6 separate regions of the Homo sapiens genome follow, and all the other regions are linked to region 1. The links are contacts of gene promoters, found by promoter capture Hi-C in blood cells and fetal thymus (Javierre and others, 2016). All regions are on one chromosome and are shown on one strand. Each heading gives the region's core, a stretch centred on a gene start or on the middle of the fragment in contact. The rest is flanking DNA. Distances are from core to core; before and after follow the strand shown. Region 1 holds the start of SLC9A9-AS1 (SLC9A9 antisense RNA 1). Region 2 overlaps LOC105374138 (a long non-coding RNA gene). Region 3 overlaps SLC9A9 (solute carrier family 9 member A9). Region 4 has its middle 24 kb from the start of CHST2. Region 5 overlaps SLC9A9 (solute carrier family 9 member A9). Region 6 has its middle 77 kb from the start of CHST2.

Evidence for each region. The method cuts DNA at HindIII sites, captures the fragments that hold promoters and counts their contacts. A CHiCAGO score of 5 or more calls a contact.
Region 2: a fragment that was not itself captured here is called in contact with the fragment with the promoter of SLC9A9-AS1 in region 1 in 4 of 17 cell types (M2 macrophages, M0 macrophages, naive B cells and 1 more); the score reaches 8.6 in M2 macrophages.
Region 3: a contact is called between a fragment that was not itself captured here and the fragment with the promoter of SLC9A9-AS1 in region 1, in 2 of 17 cell types (M2 macrophages and naive B cells). The highest score is 6.1, in M2 macrophages.
Region 4: a contact is called between a fragment that was not itself captured here and the fragment with the promoter of SLC9A9-AS1 in region 1, in 7 of 17 cell types (M2 macrophages, M0 macrophages, fetal thymus and 4 more). The highest score is 9.7, in M2 macrophages.
Region 5: a contact is called between a fragment that was not itself captured here and the fragment with the promoter of SLC9A9-AS1 in region 1, in 7 of 17 cell types (M2 macrophages, M1 macrophages, M0 macrophages and 4 more). The highest score is 7.5, in M2 macrophages.
Region 6: a fragment that was not itself captured here is called in contact with the fragment with the promoter of SLC9A9-AS1 in region 1 in 1 of 17 cell types (erythroblasts); the score reaches 5.1 in erythroblasts.

What each region holds. Positions count from the first base shown.
Region 1 is chr3:143,340,948-143,343,647 of GRCh38, forward strand. It overlaps SLC9A9-AS1 (SLC9A9 antisense RNA 1), which reads left to right and starts at 1,299. Exons shown (of 4, transcript NR_048544.1): 1 at 1,299-1,337; 2 at 2,403-2,667. All of the region lies in intron 14 of SLC9A9 (solute carrier family 9 member A9), which reads right to left. The HindIII fragment of the contact is 6,948 bases long and covers 1-2,700 here.
Region 2 is chr3:143,091,778-143,094,477 of GRCh38, forward strand. The region is part of intron 2 of LOC105374138 (a long non-coding RNA gene); the gene reads left to right. Among named protein-coding and RNA genes, the nearest start is that of CHST2, 27 kb to the right of the region's middle. The HindIII fragment of the contact is 1,155 bases long and covers 733-1,887 here.
Region 3 is chr3:143,539,269-143,542,030 of GRCh38, forward strand. The region is part of intron 9 of SLC9A9 (solute carrier family 9 member A9); the gene reads right to left. Among named protein-coding and RNA genes, the nearest start is that of SLC9A9-AS1, 200 kb to the left of the region's middle. The HindIII fragment of the contact is 1,427 bases long and covers 565-1,991 here.
Region 4 is chr3:143,142,877-143,145,576 of GRCh38, forward strand. No RefSeq gene overlaps it. Among named protein-coding and RNA genes, the nearest start is that of CHST2, 24 kb to the left of the region's middle. RefSeq lists an enhancer at 1-223. The HindIII fragment of the contact is 9,831 bases long and covers 1-2,700 here.
Region 5 is chr3:143,567,701-143,570,400 of GRCh38, forward strand. All of the region lies in intron 8 of SLC9A9 (solute carrier family 9 member A9), which reads right to left. All of the region lies in intron 2 of LOC124906294 (a long non-coding RNA gene), which reads left to right. Among named protein-coding and RNA genes, the nearest start is that of SLC9A9-AS1, 230 kb to the left of the region's middle. The HindIII fragment of the contact is 2,412 bases long and covers 151-2,562 here.
Region 6 is chr3:143,195,367-143,198,066 of GRCh38, forward strand. No RefSeq gene overlaps it. Among named protein-coding and RNA genes, the nearest start is that of CHST2, 77 kb to the left of the region's middle. The HindIII fragment of the contact is 3,920 bases long and covers 1-2,700 here.

The DNA.
Region 1 (2,700 bases), core at 49-2,548:
AGGATCACCTGAACTTTATCACTTTTGCTGGTAGCAGAACAATTAAGCTGAATAGGACACTTAATTCTAAGAAAGTTCTAAAGAAATCTTTAAAATTTTTAAGACTATCCCTCTCACTATCCTTTAGGCTGAAAGTCTGTCCAAATGTCTTTTGGCACTTATGTGGAATATGATGAATTCCTTTCGCTGGATGTATCTCAGGATAGCATTAATTTGGTGTGATCGGGAGGTGAATTTCTTTAGGATCTTTTTCACTGTTCATGTGCTGTTTTGCAGTTCCTTTGGAGTAGTGGGGGCTTAAGGGGGCTTAGCTTTCATAAACTTTTGGTCTTGAGAATATATACCTGAGATGGGGTCGGTTTGGGAGCCTCCAATGCCTGTCAATTTGGGAACTCCAGAGTAGGATTTTATAAAAATAATCATCCATTCATAACTGTATTGAGTTACAAGGGAGGGCAAGAGAGTCATCCCAGGTCATAGTCATACAATGTAAATTTAGACCAAGGGATGAAACGTGTTGGAGAACACCCTGCAATAATCATTATTGGGTATCTGTGAATTTAACACACTTTTCAGAATGGGACAAGTTGCTTGCCACGGTAGGAAAAGCTGTGCCAAATGTTTGAGGAGAAATGTGGAGAGGAATAACATTAGCTTCAGATACCAAATTGCAAGTTAAACTTCCTGAGGATTTCCCGAACCCTGTTCAAATAAATTAAAATTTTGTTTACCAAAATGACTCCGATATGCAAATACAGAACACAGTGTTATATAGGTGCTAGGGACTGAAATTTTTTACAATCATATAATTTATTGTAATACTTAATATTATGATAAGACCGTTAATTTATCATATTTTCCCTGTAGTGTTTACTCACATGGACGGGGATAGATCCAGATTTCATGAAGTCTGAAGGTTACCTAATTTTGGAGGCTATTCTTAATAAAAAGAATGCACACTTTTGAATATCAACACTGGTCCCTTACAAAGGACCCATGCAGATGAAGAGCCCTGAAAGCTGAGTTTCATTGATTCCGGGTGAAACTACCTCTGGATGTGGAGCTGTGTTATGGGAATACCGCATCACAGTCAGGACCCAGCTCTGCTGCCGCCTCAGTAGGAGGCAAAGGTGGAAACGTGGAAACTATGGTTATAAGGTTCATACTTTACTGACCATCATTGAAGCTGCTTGTTGGGTCCCTTAGGAAGGGATCTCTCAATGAAACAAACATTAGAGCTTCTTATTTTTTTTTGAGACAGTGTCTAACTCTGTCACCCAGGCTGGAGTGCAGTGGCACCATCTTGGCTCACTACAACCTCTGCTTCCTGGATTCAGGTGATTCTCCTACCTCAGCCTTCTAAGTAGCTAGGATTACAAGGCATGTGCTACCATACCGAGCTAATTTTTGTATTTTTAGTAGAGACAGGGTTTTGCCATATTGGCCAGGCTGATCTTGAACTGCTGACCTCAAGTGATCCACCCTTATGACCAGCAGACCCTGATCTAAGAAGCTAGATGATTCCTCATGAGGTCACTTATAAACCTTATTGCTGATGTATTTCAGTTTATTTATTGGACTATCTTAGATTTTAAACACCCCACCCAATGCCACCATCTATGTAGCAACTAGAGCAGGACTCACAAATAAAATAACCTTCAAGGCCAAACAGCTTCCAATAGCCAGATTTGTCAAGATTAACTTAAGGTTTTAAAATTAGGCAATGCTTGTAGACACAAACCACTGTGGGCACCATAAAATATCACCTTATTTCAAAAGACTGAGAAAACTGAAAATGACCTGAAAAATTCCTATTGAGTGATCTATTTAATCACTCAGGTGGGGTATGGTGTATCTGGTGCATGTTCAACCTCAGGTGCAGGTGCATGTGCATGCAAATATACACGCGCCACGCTTTTAACCATGCATCTCTCTTTGAAAAGATCATTCCTTCTTTCTTATCTATATGTGAACAAATTGTCAAAACAACCTCAAATGCTAGATGATATAATCCCCAAATGCTAGTAATATAAAAATGACTGTAATAATACAAGTGATATCATTGCTATACATAGCACCACACTTTTACTGTTTCTCAAATCTACAACTATCCTATTTTCTAGTGTTTGTTTATTTCTTTATTCACTGAAATGACTGATATGGGCAGTTTAGACACCCAGAGGAGGAGATAATGGTTTTGATTGTGCTAGATGGTTTGACTCTGCTGAGTGTATCCTATAGACTTAATACCAACAGAGGTCATGGATATTTTTTTCCCACTTCTTTTCCTCTTTATTGTTAAGGAGACTAATTGTGTGTGAGTGTATGACAGGAAATGTTTTGATTTTTTTGTAGTGGCAAGAACAGGAGGGCATTCTTTTAAACATCTTTTCATTTTCTAGGCAAAGCGTGGGAATGGAGGATGAGAGATAGTCAATTTTCAGAATAAGATGTTCTACCAAGATGTAAAGAGGGGAAAAAAAGTAACTTTCAACAGCTAGGCAAGAACTGCCACAAGCAGTAGTCGAAAAAATCAACGGCATGGTTTCCTAATGTGGTCTTGGATTCAGCAAGAAAATACTACAGAGAGAAAACTGCAGGAGTCCCTATTTTGTCCCCTCAAAATGAATTAAATGGTCTAGTGGAAGCTGAAGGACTCTGAAGATGGTGAGTCTACCACTGATTCTTCAGATGGTGTCA
Region 2 (2,700 bases), core at 60-2,559, 250 kb before region 1:
TCAATGTTACTTTCTGCACAGATTTAAAAAACAAAAAACTTGTGTGGTGGTTCACACCTGTAGTCCCAGCACTTTGGGAGATTGAGGCAGGAGGATCGCTTGAGGCCAGGAGTTCAAGACCAGTGTGGGCAACAGAGTGAGACCTCATTTCTACAAAAAATTTAAAAAATTACTCAGGTTTGGTGGTGCACACCTGTGGTCCCAGCTATTCAGGAGGCTAAGGTGGGAGGATCGCTTGAGCCCAGGAGTTTGAGGCTACAGTGAAGCATGATTGCACCACCACACCCCAGCCTGGGTGACAGAGTGAGACCCTACCCCCACCAAAAATAATAAAAAACAAAAAACAAACAAATGAACAGAACAATTTTGGTTCTTGTAAAAAAAAATAGGAAGAGAAGGTTAAGTGTCCATAGTTTTCCAAAACGAGTATGTAACCCCACTGTATGCAGGGGCATGAGGCACAGTGGGTGTCTAGGGCATGCTTTGGAAGTATGCAGCTGGCAGCTGCAGAGGGAGAAAGGCATTGGCTAAGAAGAGAACTGTGTTCCTGGCCCAGATCTTATGACCTTCAGCTAGTCATTCTATGGACTTTAGGTTCCTTATCTGTAAAATGGGCCTGTTGCACTATATGATTACTCTTATCAGCCAACTCAGAGGAGTGTGTGTGTGTGTGTGTGTGTGTGCATGCATGGTCATGCCTGTGTGAGTGTGTGTATGTTTGTGGTTTTTAAAAGCTTACCTCCAAACAAAATTGCCCCTTCTCAAACTGGGTGCCACTGTTCTAAGCCATTCTTCCTGATGCAAGCTAGTAAATGTTCCCTTCAGATCTCACATTAGGAATTTTGTTTTGATTACCTTAAAGACTCTTTGTAGCTCTGGCAGCCTCTCAATCTGTGCTTAGGAGGATGAAATGGTCTGTGCTCACAGGCTTTGGAAGATAGAAAACTGCCTCTCTTCCTCCCTTCTCCCCACGCTTCCTCATCCCCTAATCTCCACTGGAATCTATCAGCTGAATTCTGAGTTTGTGTCCCCAAGGCAGGAATCTGGGAGGTGACAGGACACTGTCCCTCACAGCAGCTTTCTGTGAGCCATAGCATTCTAGAGAAGTCATGCAGTTGAAGAATATAATTCAAAAATAGATAAACTGATAGCAAAGCCACTGGTTATTGACCACTCGTTGTGTGTCAGGCACTGTGCTAATTCCTTACATATACATTTCTTAAACCCTTATGATAACCTAGTAAACATAATGATCCCATATTATAGATGAGAACACAGACTCCGACAGGCTAAGTAATTTTCCCAAGGCCTCAGAACTCCTAAGTGGCTGAGCCAGGATTGAAGGCAGAGCTCCTTGCCATCTGGCCAAAGAGGCATTGTGGAGCAGACTGTTTTTCAAAATATAGGTTATAATCCATTAATACTCCATGAAAATAATTCTGGGCTTAAGAATAGCATTAAAAATAGAGTAGAATGGAAAATATCAGAGTGCATCTTACGTAATATGTAAATATTATTTTGTGAAATTTTGTGTGTGTATGTACAGTGTTGTGACATAAAATCAACTTCTTACTGTGGGTGGTCATTAACATTTTCTTTTATAATAGAGTTTGCGAAACTCCAGTCAGGAGAAGTTAATTAATGAGATGGAATGAAAAGGGCAAGGTGTGGGGTGTTTGGGTATTTCCCCTGCAGAAATTGACCTTTTTTTTTTTTTTTTTTTTTTAGTTTTGTAGTTTTGTCATTTCAAATACCCTCTTTACATCTTTCAGTCTCTTTTCCTTATGGTTCCTTCTTGTTCTGAAATTCTATGACCCTTTGAGAAGCACAGGCAATTAATTTGTGTTTTGGCAGGGTAGAGAATGACAGAGTCACTGGGCACTGGGAAGCTTTACAGGGTACTTTTCCCTGAGCGGAGAGGAGGAGGCTGGTTTCTCTGGGCAGAGGGAGATAATACTCTATGTTTTGCTCCTTTTAGTCAACACTGTAATAGCAAAATTTATTCATGTATTTGTTTATACTCTAGTTCAGGGGTTCCCAGCCTCTGGGCTGCAAACTGGTACTGGTCTGAGGCCTGTTAGGAACTGGGCTGGACAGCAGGAGGTGAGCAGTGGGCGAGCAAGCAGCACTGCCTGAGCTCTGCCTCCTGTCAGGTCAGCGGCAGCATTAGATTCTCATAGGAGCGCCAACCCTATTGTGAGCTGTGCATTCGAGGGATCTGAGATGGGACAGTTTCATCTTGAAACCAACCTTGTCCTCATCTGTGGAAAAATTGTCTTCCATGAAACCAGTCCCTGGTGCCAAAAAGGTTGGAGATTGCTGCTCTAGTTCATTCTTTTCCATTTTATATTCCATCATTTGACTATATAATTATAAATCATTTGTATTTGTTTTTGCTCTTTGGGTTTTATAAACAGTGTAGTTTTGAAGGTTCTGGCCTAAGCATTCTGGTGTGCATGTCCACAGATTCTCTAATGAATATGCCCAGTAAATAAGGAATAGTGAATGACCCAGAATTGCTGGGTTTTAGGGTATCAAAATGCTCACGTTTGCTAGGAAATGCCAAAACCATTTTTTCCAAAGTAGCAACAATTTATGATTTTCACCAGCAGTGTATAAGAATTCTTATTCTCACTAACAGTTGGCACTGCCAGATTTTTTACATTTTTGGCGGTGGTGTGTAGTAGCTCTTTGTGGTTT
Region 3 (2,762 bases), core at 28-2,527, 200 kb after region 1:
GTACTTTATTAGGAGTTATATATCATATCTCCACTGATAGGATTCTTTGGATTTTTGAGCTGTGCCTCCAGAAGCAATTCAATTTCTTTTCTGAAGGAATTGCACAAAGACTTAACGTTTTATTAAATACATTTGCTGCATCTTTCAAGATTATTAAGGAAATGGCATCCTTAAATTTGGCAACATTCTTTAACAAACACATGCTCAGGCACACATATTCAGCCTTGATGTTTTCTGCATTGCATCAATAAAATTTAATTGAAATAAGTAGAAAAATTACAGTAATTTCCATTTATCATTCTAAAATGCCATTATGAGACTGAAGCCCTTCATACTTACACCTATCAAACAGGATGATAAAACTGTAATGGGCTATTAAAGGGGGTTATGCCATTGCCATCCTTAGAAATTTTAAGGTAATAGTGGGCGACCATCTGTCTTGAGTGTTATCAAAGCAGGTACCAGGCCAGCTGATCTCCTAAATTCCATTCATATAAAATTTTCCATTATGCATTGAATCAGATCCATACATAGAAGGACATGAAATTTATATGTTGATATCCAAGCTTTGATGATGGTAGTTTTTGTTTTCTAAAAGTGAAAAATTAAGAGAGAGAGAGAGAGAGAGAGTGTGCAAGTGAGCACTATCTTTTTAAGGAGTTGGGGCTCTACATAGTGAGAAAGAATACAAAACCATGATTTGGGGGAAAATATAATAAAGAAAATTAATATTTAGAAAAGGCTAAATGAGGTAAGTATACTTTCTTAGGGCTTGGTGGGGATGAGAAAGAAAAATTAAGGGAAGATTTTGGAGACTTGTTAGTAAGACATTTAAAGGTAAATTAGTATGTGCCACCAAGACATTGCCTATTGGGTAGAGATAGTCTTGGGAGGTGACTCTGATACAGAGCCTTTTATGATGGTGATAAAGAAGCAGAATAAAACAACAATAACATTGTTCAAGTACTCTTAGTTATGTAGAATGCTGATGAATCCTGAAGAAAGCAAGCCAGCAGAGGCAAAACAGAATAATATCTGTCATAAGATAAATAGGTGAACAGGATAGATGATGAGACAGCACCAATATTTTGGTGAAAAAAGAAAAGACTATTCTTGGCTCTACCTATTAAGGCCCTCTCAGGGTTGTAGTAAAGCAGGGAAATAAAAAAATGGAGGAGAGTGGTGATCTGCAGGAACGGAGTTCCCTTCATCATCCTCTGTTAAGGGGACAGGGAAGAAAAACAGAAAGCCCAAGGAGAGGAAGAAGAATGGATTAGTGATAAAAGGATAAAACAATAGAATGCATAAATAAATTGAAAATGATCAGGATCACGTGTAAAGTTTCATAAATTTAATAAAAGGGGAAAATACATGCATGCAATTTTCTGTAAGAAAAGGTCTATACTCAAATACATACAAAGGACATTAAAAACAACGAGTTGTGATGCACTACTCTATTCTTTGTGTGGCCTTAACTTCTCTAAGACTATAAAATCTGATTAATAATAGTCTTCACCTTGTAGATTTTATGTGAACATTAATAAGAATAACTTATATGAAACATATATGTTCAGTGCCTGACACATTATAGTGTTCAACAATTGTTGATACTAAATTTTTTAAAACCTGGGTAGGATAGATGGTTTACTAAGAAAATGGATATGGCTAAAATTGAATGAAGAAGCAGAAAACCTAAATATTCAACCATATACGAAATTAAAAGCACTATCAAACAATTTCTTCCAAAAATGGCATTGGGTCTCCTGGTACTTTAAAATGTCCACAAATTATTTGACACCCCTTCCCCCACCACCACTTCAAAATGTAAATGAATTAATCCCCTCCCATTGCTCATGGTCCAATTTTACGGAATCGATTCTAACAAATAGAATATGGCAGAAATGACAGTAAACAACTTTAGAGACTAGTTAATCAGAACCATTGCTTCTGTCTTTTTGCTCTCTCTGGTTTCACTTGCTCTGGGCAAAGTAAGCTTTCACATCACGAGGACACCCAAGCAGCCCGATGGAGGACACAGGTGGAAGAACTGAGGTCTTCTGCCAACAGCCACGTAAATGAGGCTCTTGGAGAGAATTCTCTAGCCCCAGCCAAACCTTGAGACACGGAAGCCCTGATCAACAATTTGTCAGCAACCTCACGAGACCCTGAGCCAAAGCCACCCAGCAAAGCTGATACTCCTGGATTCCAGGACTTCACAAACTATACGAAATAATAATACAAGTTTGTTGTTTAAAGCTGCTAAATTTGGGAGTAATTTGTTACACAGCAATATATAACAAATATACCAAATGTTTTTAGAGGCAGGTGCTGTGTATTTTTAATTGACAGTGCATATCCCTTGAGCAATGACCCATGTCCAGGTTGACCCTGGGTTGGAAAACTGGTCCAAGCCCTTGAAGTCATTGAATTTCCCTGGGTTTCAGTTTCCTCCAATAAAATTCTGGGTTCAAAAGTTTATAGTTTCCCTTAGCTCTGAACTTCTTTGATTTCATGACTTAAAATTTCCAACTGCAATTATATGCTATGATAAACAGATTTGTGGGTGAGAGAGTAGGACAGATTTAACTGAGAAGTTATAGTCCAACTACAGCTTTGTCAGATAAAAAATTTACATAAAATATTTTCAAGGAGAAACATGGATGTCTTACTTATCTTTATTTCTCCCTGGGTCCCAGTACCCAGGACATAGAAGGTACCCACTATTGAAGGTGCCAAATATTTATCTGTGGCTCCTACTATAA
Region 4 (2,700 bases), core at 122-2,621, 200 kb before region 1:
TTTGGCCAGTTGGTTCCTGTGCATTTTGACATGCCTCATCATTTTTCGAGCATTTATTTTTAGAAGCATAATATGGTCCAAGGTTATCTTTTACTTTCCTTTCTTTGTCTTGGAATCAGCCATTATTCCAAGGAGCCAAATTCCTTTTTATTGGAGAATGGTATTTAGAGATTAACATCTGGATGCTGTATCTGGTCATTCAACCAGAACAATTATCTCAATACAAGAGGGTTTTGTTAGGTGTCGCTGTTTTACATTTTTCATTCTTTCTTCTCAGTTATCTCTTTAGTATCAACTTATTTTTATGGCCTGTAAAGTATCAAGACATAAACTACTATTCTAATAGAAATTTCAGTATATATATATATTTTTACTTACTGTGTTTTAGCAAACATTTATTGAATATTTACTGTTCTAACAATTCATCTATTTACTTGTGAGTACCGACATTTATTGCTGCCACAGCTGAAAAGAGAACAGATTATGGATAATATAACTCTGATTATATACTTGTATGTTTTGGTGTGAATGTATCTATTCAGTTCCTTATCAACTGGTTAGCTGAGTCCATTTTCTTAAGCCACTGGTCAGTTTAGTGGAGCAAAAACCAGCTTGGCTAGCTGTTTGGCATTGTTAGATCTTAATTAACTACACTTTTTCATTTTTTGAACCGTTGTGCTGTTGTGTACATACAACTTTAGTTAAAAATTCAGTTTCCCAGTTGGTAATACATCTGCCAAGATGGTTGAATCATATCAAATCTCAGCAGAGCTGATACGCTGAAACATCCATTTCCCTGAGGGATATCATGGAGTTATATGCATAGTCAACAGGTAATTTATGAACTCTAAGGCCAAATCTTCCAGTGCAAAAGCTAATCTGTTCCATTTTGGTGAAGGATGTCTCTATTTCATTTTCTATGGATTCCTCATCAAAATCACTCTATACATCAAACAGAAGTACGGTGAGAAACCCTTGGAACATGATTCAATCATGTTGATTTAGTCAACAACTTCCCCAGGGCTAATGCAGTTAGAGTAATCATATAAATCAAAACACCTAATTCTTCTTATCTAGAATGTCAAAGACTTTTCTACATTGTGTTTGATGTAGTTGGTGCAAATATAAAGAAGGCAAAATGCAAGATTTCAAGAGAGATGTTAGGAGGAATTCTATATATTATCATAACAATGCACTTTCTTTGGTGTTGCTGTTGCCTCCAGCTAGTTCCTCAAAGGTGAGCAGTTTGTGAAATGATCAAACTTGGGTTGTTATAATAAAAGTAGTTACTGTTCAAGAGATACATCTGAATTGGATGTATACCAGACTTTACAATGGCACTGTCCTTCCAAAGGGAAGGACATCTACAGCAGGCTTGGAAAAGACACACAGATAGCTCTGTTACTTCTTGTGCATTTTGAATGACTCTTTCAACAGAACCATGCTTCTTATGTAGTTCTGTCCTTATAATCGAAAAAAATAAGACCCATTCAAGTCTTCCTCTCTAGCCTCTCAAGACATAACATGATACCATTTGGAAGCCAGTTGGGAGCATCATGTCTTCACCCAAGCCCCTGATGTAGAAGTCAACTTCCCTCATCCCAGCCCATGGAGACTCATCTTCTTATTGGCTCCTGCTGCCCAAACTGGTAGTCCTCAGCTCCAATTTCCCTTTGTAGATTAAGGTACTGTTGCCAGCATAAGAGGTATGGGGCAGGGGAAAACTTGTGACTGACCCAGATCAGCCTACTTGCCAATAGGGTGTATGATTCCTCAGTATTTCTTAAAAACAAATGAGCTGATGTTTGCCAGACACCTTCTCAGAACTCCTTACTGCCCCCCCCCACACATATGCTTCTACTTTGATTCTATGTGTGGTTGCTGCTTGTAATTGTCCTGGAGAATTCAAAAGGGGGTTCTGTAGATCAGTTCTTGCACCTAGAAACTAGCACTTATATTTCCCTCCTGTCTTGGGATTCTGTGTCCATATGATCCCCTAGCAGGACGTCCATTTCTTCAGTAAAGTGGCCATTTTCTGTAGGAGAAACGTGCCCATGTTCTGCCCTGAAGTACTAGACCATCTGTTGGGGAAATGCTGCCATGAGAAGATCTGTTGTGCCATGGACCTACTTTAGTGGTGAAGGAAAGGAACATGGCACAGGCTCACCTCAGGGCCTTTGCACTTGCAGTGCCCTCTGCCTAGAATGCTTTTTACTGAGATTGCTGCATGGCTGCTTCCCTTTTGCCACACATGTCTCAGCTTAAAGATCCTCTCCTCTGAGAGCCTTCTCTGACTACATGGGTACTGTCTTTTCCAACCCCAGTTTTATTTTCTTCACTGTACTTACCATTATCTGATATTTTGTTGGCTCATTTGTTTACTTGACACATGTGGCTAGAATGGGAGCCCCTTTAGAGCAGGGACCTTGCCCGTTTTGGTCACTAGCATTCCCAGGGTCAGTATAGGAATAACAAATCTGTCTTAGAACAAGTCTGCAATGCCTGTGTCAATTAATATCAACTTTACCTAGAAGAAACAAGTCTAGGCTGGTTGAGGTGGCTCATGTCTATAATCCCAGCACTTGGAGAGTCCAAAAGGGGAGAATTGCTTGAGGCCAGGAGTTTGAGACCAACCTGGGCAACATAGTGAGACCCCCATACCACCCCCGCCCCCCGCAAAAAAAAAAAAAAAAAATTAGC
Region 5 (2,700 bases), core at 107-2,606, 230 kb after region 1:
AAATCAAATGATCATCATCAAATTAGTAACAACTGAAAGTGAATGCAGGCCACGTGTTAATGAGCAAGCTGCTTACACTGAAGTGTTCATGATGAATCTGGTAAGAAGCTGAATTGGAAAGGATAATGAACACTGCAAACTGTCTTTAAAAGCTTGATTCTTTTTGTTCGTTTATCAGTATGCACCTGGCATAAGATGGTCCCAAGTATCCTAGCCTAGAGGCTGTGCCGTCTTTGAGACTGTCTTCCCTTCTGATCTGTCACAAAGTTATACAATTTCTTTTGTTGAAATACCTCATGGACTATTCCTTCCTTTGTACCATTTAGATTTCTTTGTTTGCAAGTAATAAAAACAGACTCTGGCTAGCATAATCAGAAAGGAATTTATTGGAAGGAAGTGTGATAGCTCTTAGAAAGGAGGCATCATGGCTGCTCCAGGGATCTGGTGGCAGGAATAAATAAATAGAGGGTCTCAATAGGGCTCTGCTATTGAGGAGGTGCCAGCAGTTATACAGCCTCCTCTCTCCCTCCTAAAGTTTTACATACCAGGGGAAGAGTGTCTAGTTGTCCTACCTTCAGATGTCCTAATTCTCTTTGTCAGGGGAGGGTGGGACACGTTGATTAGAAGATGTTATCCATTGGAGTTGGGGGTAGTTTCCTAAGAAACATTAGGATGCTATTACCAGTGGAAGTGAGAATGTGTTGGGGCAGCCAGAACCAACACATGTCCACCACATTCTTCTAGACAGAGCTGTTCCTTTCATGCCTATATGTCTTCATTTTTTAACTTAATAATTGGGAAAATAAGGTTACAGATTAATGCAATTTATGAGATATCATTTACTTGACGTATGGATCTGCTGTGAAATGTTTGGACCAGAGGATGTGTAAAATCTGTAGGAATATTATTGGGCACAGAACACTTACTACCTTATAAAGTGATCTGTTATTCAGGTTTTGAAACTTTTTTCTTTTGTGAGTGAAAATTATTCATTCCACTGCTCGAACGATATTTATTTTGTGCCCACAATGCTTCAGACATTCTTTTGGTGCTGACAAAGCCCTCCTGAACTTGACAGTCTAACTTCTGCCCATTAATCCTAATTCTCCATCAGCTCTAATTTTGTACTTTAGAGCTACAGAGAATAAATCAAATAGTGCAGTGCAATCTAGATGCACATATACAAACAATAACCAGTTAGAAACTATAAAGAAGTTCCCATTTACTGTAGCACCCCAAAATATAAAGTAGCTGCTGAAAAGATACTTAACAAGAAATTTGTAGGTCTAATGTGAAGACAACTGTAAAAATTTACTGAGAGCCGTAAAATAAGACTCAAATAAATGGAGAGTCATAACATATTCCTGGGTGGGAAGACTTGATGTTATAAAAATGCCATTTCTCTTCAAATTAATCTAAAAATTTAATGTACCCCAATTATAATTCCAAAATTATTTTCTGTTTGGAACCTGTTATTTCCAAGTCCATCAGGAATAATAAATACACAGGTATAGCAAAGGAACTTTTGAATATGGGGAAGAGGAGTGAAAGACTGACCTACTAGATATTAAAATAAACCATGAAGCTGAAATAATTGACACAGTGAATATCAAACATTCGGTGGAACAATGGAAAGCCCAGAACATACAGATACACATACACATACATGTATGTGCACATACATAGACATTTTAAATAGGCAAAAGTTGATGGGTGTTAGGACAGGTGACTTATCATCTGGGAAGAAAATCAAATCGCTACTATACCCCACACCTCATATCAAAACAAATTCCAGTTGGTTTCTGATGCAAAAACAAAATCAAACAACTTTTAAAAGAAATTATACACTATCATTAAGAAACACTTGGGTTTTCTATATATTTTTTCTTTTTTATTATTTTTTAGGCTGCTAAGTTTGTGGACATATCATTCACTTGGGCTTTCTAAGGAGGCAATACAATTAACCACATAAAACTTGAAAATGCCTATGCCAACCCCTTTCCCTTACCCAAACGAACAAAACAGAACATAGTTAAAAGGTACAAGCACAAATTGGAGAATATTTATGGCCTATATGACAGTCAAAAGGTTAATTTTCTTTTATTGTTTTTTTCTTTTTTTTTTTTTTTTGGAGACAGGGTATCTCTTTGTTGCCCAGAATAGAATGCAGTCATGTCATAGCTCATTGCAGTCTTGAACTCCTGGGCTCAAGCAATCCTCCTGCCTCAGCCTCCCTGGTAGCTAGGGCCACAGTGTGTGCCACCATGACCAGATACTTTTTTTTTTTTAGAGACAGGGTCTCACTATGTTGTCCAGTCTGGTCTGGAACTCTTGGGCCCAAGCAATCCTCCCTGCTTGGCCTCCCAAAGTGCTGGGATTATAGAAATGCATCATTGGTCCTAGCCAATTTTCTCCATAGATAAAGAGTAACTGAACTACAATGTGACAAAGATAAGCATCTCAACACGAAAACAGTTAACAACAACAAAAAAGTAACAAAGGGCATAAACTGGTAGTTCACCAAAGAAGAAATACAAACAGCCAATGACCTGTAATTAAAAAAGCTTCTCCTTCATAAAAATATAATAAATGTAAACCGGAAGAAAATGGAACTTGATTATCAAATTAGCAGTGATTAATAAGATTTGGGGTGGTGAAGACGTGAGTGAATGAGCTTGCTTTCAGATTGCTGGTGGGAGT
Region 6 (2,700 bases), core at 187-2,686, 150 kb before region 1:
AAAAGAGATATGTATCTTGTTAATTCCCAGAGCCTAGACAAGGCTGGGCACATAGTAGGTACTCCATAAATATTTATTGAGTATATATATATATGGCATATATATATATATATGCCCCTTTGGAAGTTTTACTTCTTCTGTTTATTGTTGATATTTCAAAATCTCATGAGAATATATTTAGGTGTAGGCCTTTGTGTTCAGTAATTGCAGCATCCAAGATGGGCTTGCTACTGCTCTAGGAGTTTTTTTTTCCTATGGTTGTTTTATTTCCTTTCTTCCAACTCCTTTTCTTCCTCATCTTTGGAACTCCTGTTGGGTTGGTATTAGAATTCCTGGATTGAAGTTAGAGCTATGATACAGTTCGGATATTTGTCCCCACCCAAATCTCATGTTGAATTGTAATTCCCCAATGTTGGAGGTGGGGCCTGATGGGAGGTGTTTGGGTCATGGAGGCGGATCCCTCGTGGCTAGGTGCTGTTGTCCCAGTAGTGAGTAAATTCTCACAAGATCTGGTTGTTTAAAGTATGTGGCACCTCTCCCACTTTCTCTTGTTCCTGCTTTCACCACGTGACATGCCTGCTTCCACTTTGCCTTCAGCCATGAGTAAAAGCTCCTGAGGCTTCCCCAGAAGCTGAGCAAAGGCAGGAACCATTTGTTACAGCCTGCAGATTTGTGAGCCAATTAAATCTGTTTTCTTTATAAATTATGCAGTCTCAGGTATTTCTTTATAGCAATGCAATAATGGCTTTACACAATCTATCATATCATTTAAGTTTTTCTCTTCCTTTAAAAAAACTTCTTCTTCCTATTTTTTATCTGTAATCTTTCTTTGACTTTGTCTTCTAGCTCTTATATAGTTTTTTTATTTTTAATTTTTGTGGGTACATAGATGATATATTTATGGTGACATATTTATATATGTTTGTGGGTACATGGGTGATATATTTATGCGGTACATGAGATATTTTGACATAGACATACAATGTGTAATAATCACATCAGGGTAAATGGAGTATCTATCATGTCAATAATTTATCCCTTCTTTGTGTTACAACAATCCAATTATATTCTTTTAGTTATTTTAAAATGTATAATAAATTATTGTTGACTGTAGTCACCCTGTTGTGCTATCAAATACTAGATCTTATTCATTCTAATTATATTTTTGTACCTATGGTTTTTATTTTGACAGTTATTTTTTAATTTGCAAAACATTGTATTTGTTCTCTGTCCTGTGTTGAAGTGTTTGGTTCTGTTTTGATGGTTGTAGTCTCTTTTCAGTCTGTACATGCCTCCTTGGTAATCAGTCATTCTTTTTGCCTTAGAGATTCACTTACAAGCTGTTGATTTCCCTTAAATGTTTGTTAAACCTTGGCGGCTTGTTCCTTTTTGTAAAAAAAGGATTAGACTGATTAATATGGACCACTAAGGCAGTTCTAAAGTTTTCTTCTGTAGCTGAGTTGATCCATTTTCACAGCAAATCTCAGCATACTTCCCTTCTTAAAAAATGCCAAAATAGGATGGACGTTACTGTGCAGAACCACTACTTATGTGAAAAAGTCAGTATTCTCAAGATGCTGTGATGTCAGTATTTTTGTCCCCTCCAAAATTCATGCTGAAATTTAATCCTAAATGCAGCAATATCAAGGAGTTGTGGCCTTTAATAGGTGATTAGGCCATGAGGGCTCCCCTCTGGTGAAGGGGAGTCGGTGCCTTTATAAAAGGGCTTGAGGGAGGGAGTTTGTCCCTTTCTGCCCTTCTGCCTTCTGCCGTGTGAGGACACAGCATTCCTCCCCTCTGGAGACCACAGCATTCAAGACACCATTTTGGAGGCAGAGACAGGATCCTCAGTTAAACATCAAATTTGCCTCTTTGCTCTTGGACTTCCCATCCTCCAGAGCTGGGAGAAATACATCTGTTCTTTATAAATTCCTCAGTCTGAGTCTCAATTTATAAATTACCCAGTTTTTATAGCAGCACAAGCAGACTAAGACTTACAAGAGAAATACTCAACATTTTTATAGGACAGAGCTCTGGCTTTATGTGGAGGCCAATCACGTGGCTGACATGTTCACTAATAAACGTGGAAGTGAGAGATGTAGGAACTCTGGTTTGGCTGTTTTGTATTCTGCCCTTTAATTAATCACTCTGATTACAGCCCCCAGATACATTTTTGCTCCCTGAACCTTTCACTCTGAGCTTGGAGGTTCTCTGCATCTCCTCCAGGAAAAATGGTTCCAACTTCTGCTTGAGCCTTATTTTCTTTGCACTCTGAGATTCAGTTTTCTATGCACCATTAGCTTATTCCCTAATAGAGTCACATCTACTTTTGGCTTATATGATTTCACTAAAGTCTCTGGGTTATATGTATTTGGGGGCCAGTTTTACATTTTATCTAAGTGAAATTAGAATAAAGTGAGTATCATGGGAAGACTTTAGGGAAAAGACATCATGGAAAGTCAACATGTGGCTTGAGGAGAAGATGTGAAGGGGAGTCTGTTTTATAGACGATAGTTCTCCCATGGGTTAATGAGGCTGATTGTAAAGATTGCATACATTAAATACCCTAGAGCAAGTTTGTCTAACCTGCAGCCCATGGGGGCTTTGAATGCAGCCCATCACAAATTCACAAACTTTCTTAAAACATTATGAGATTTTTTTTTGCAATTTTTTTTAGCTCATCAGCTATAATTAGTATTA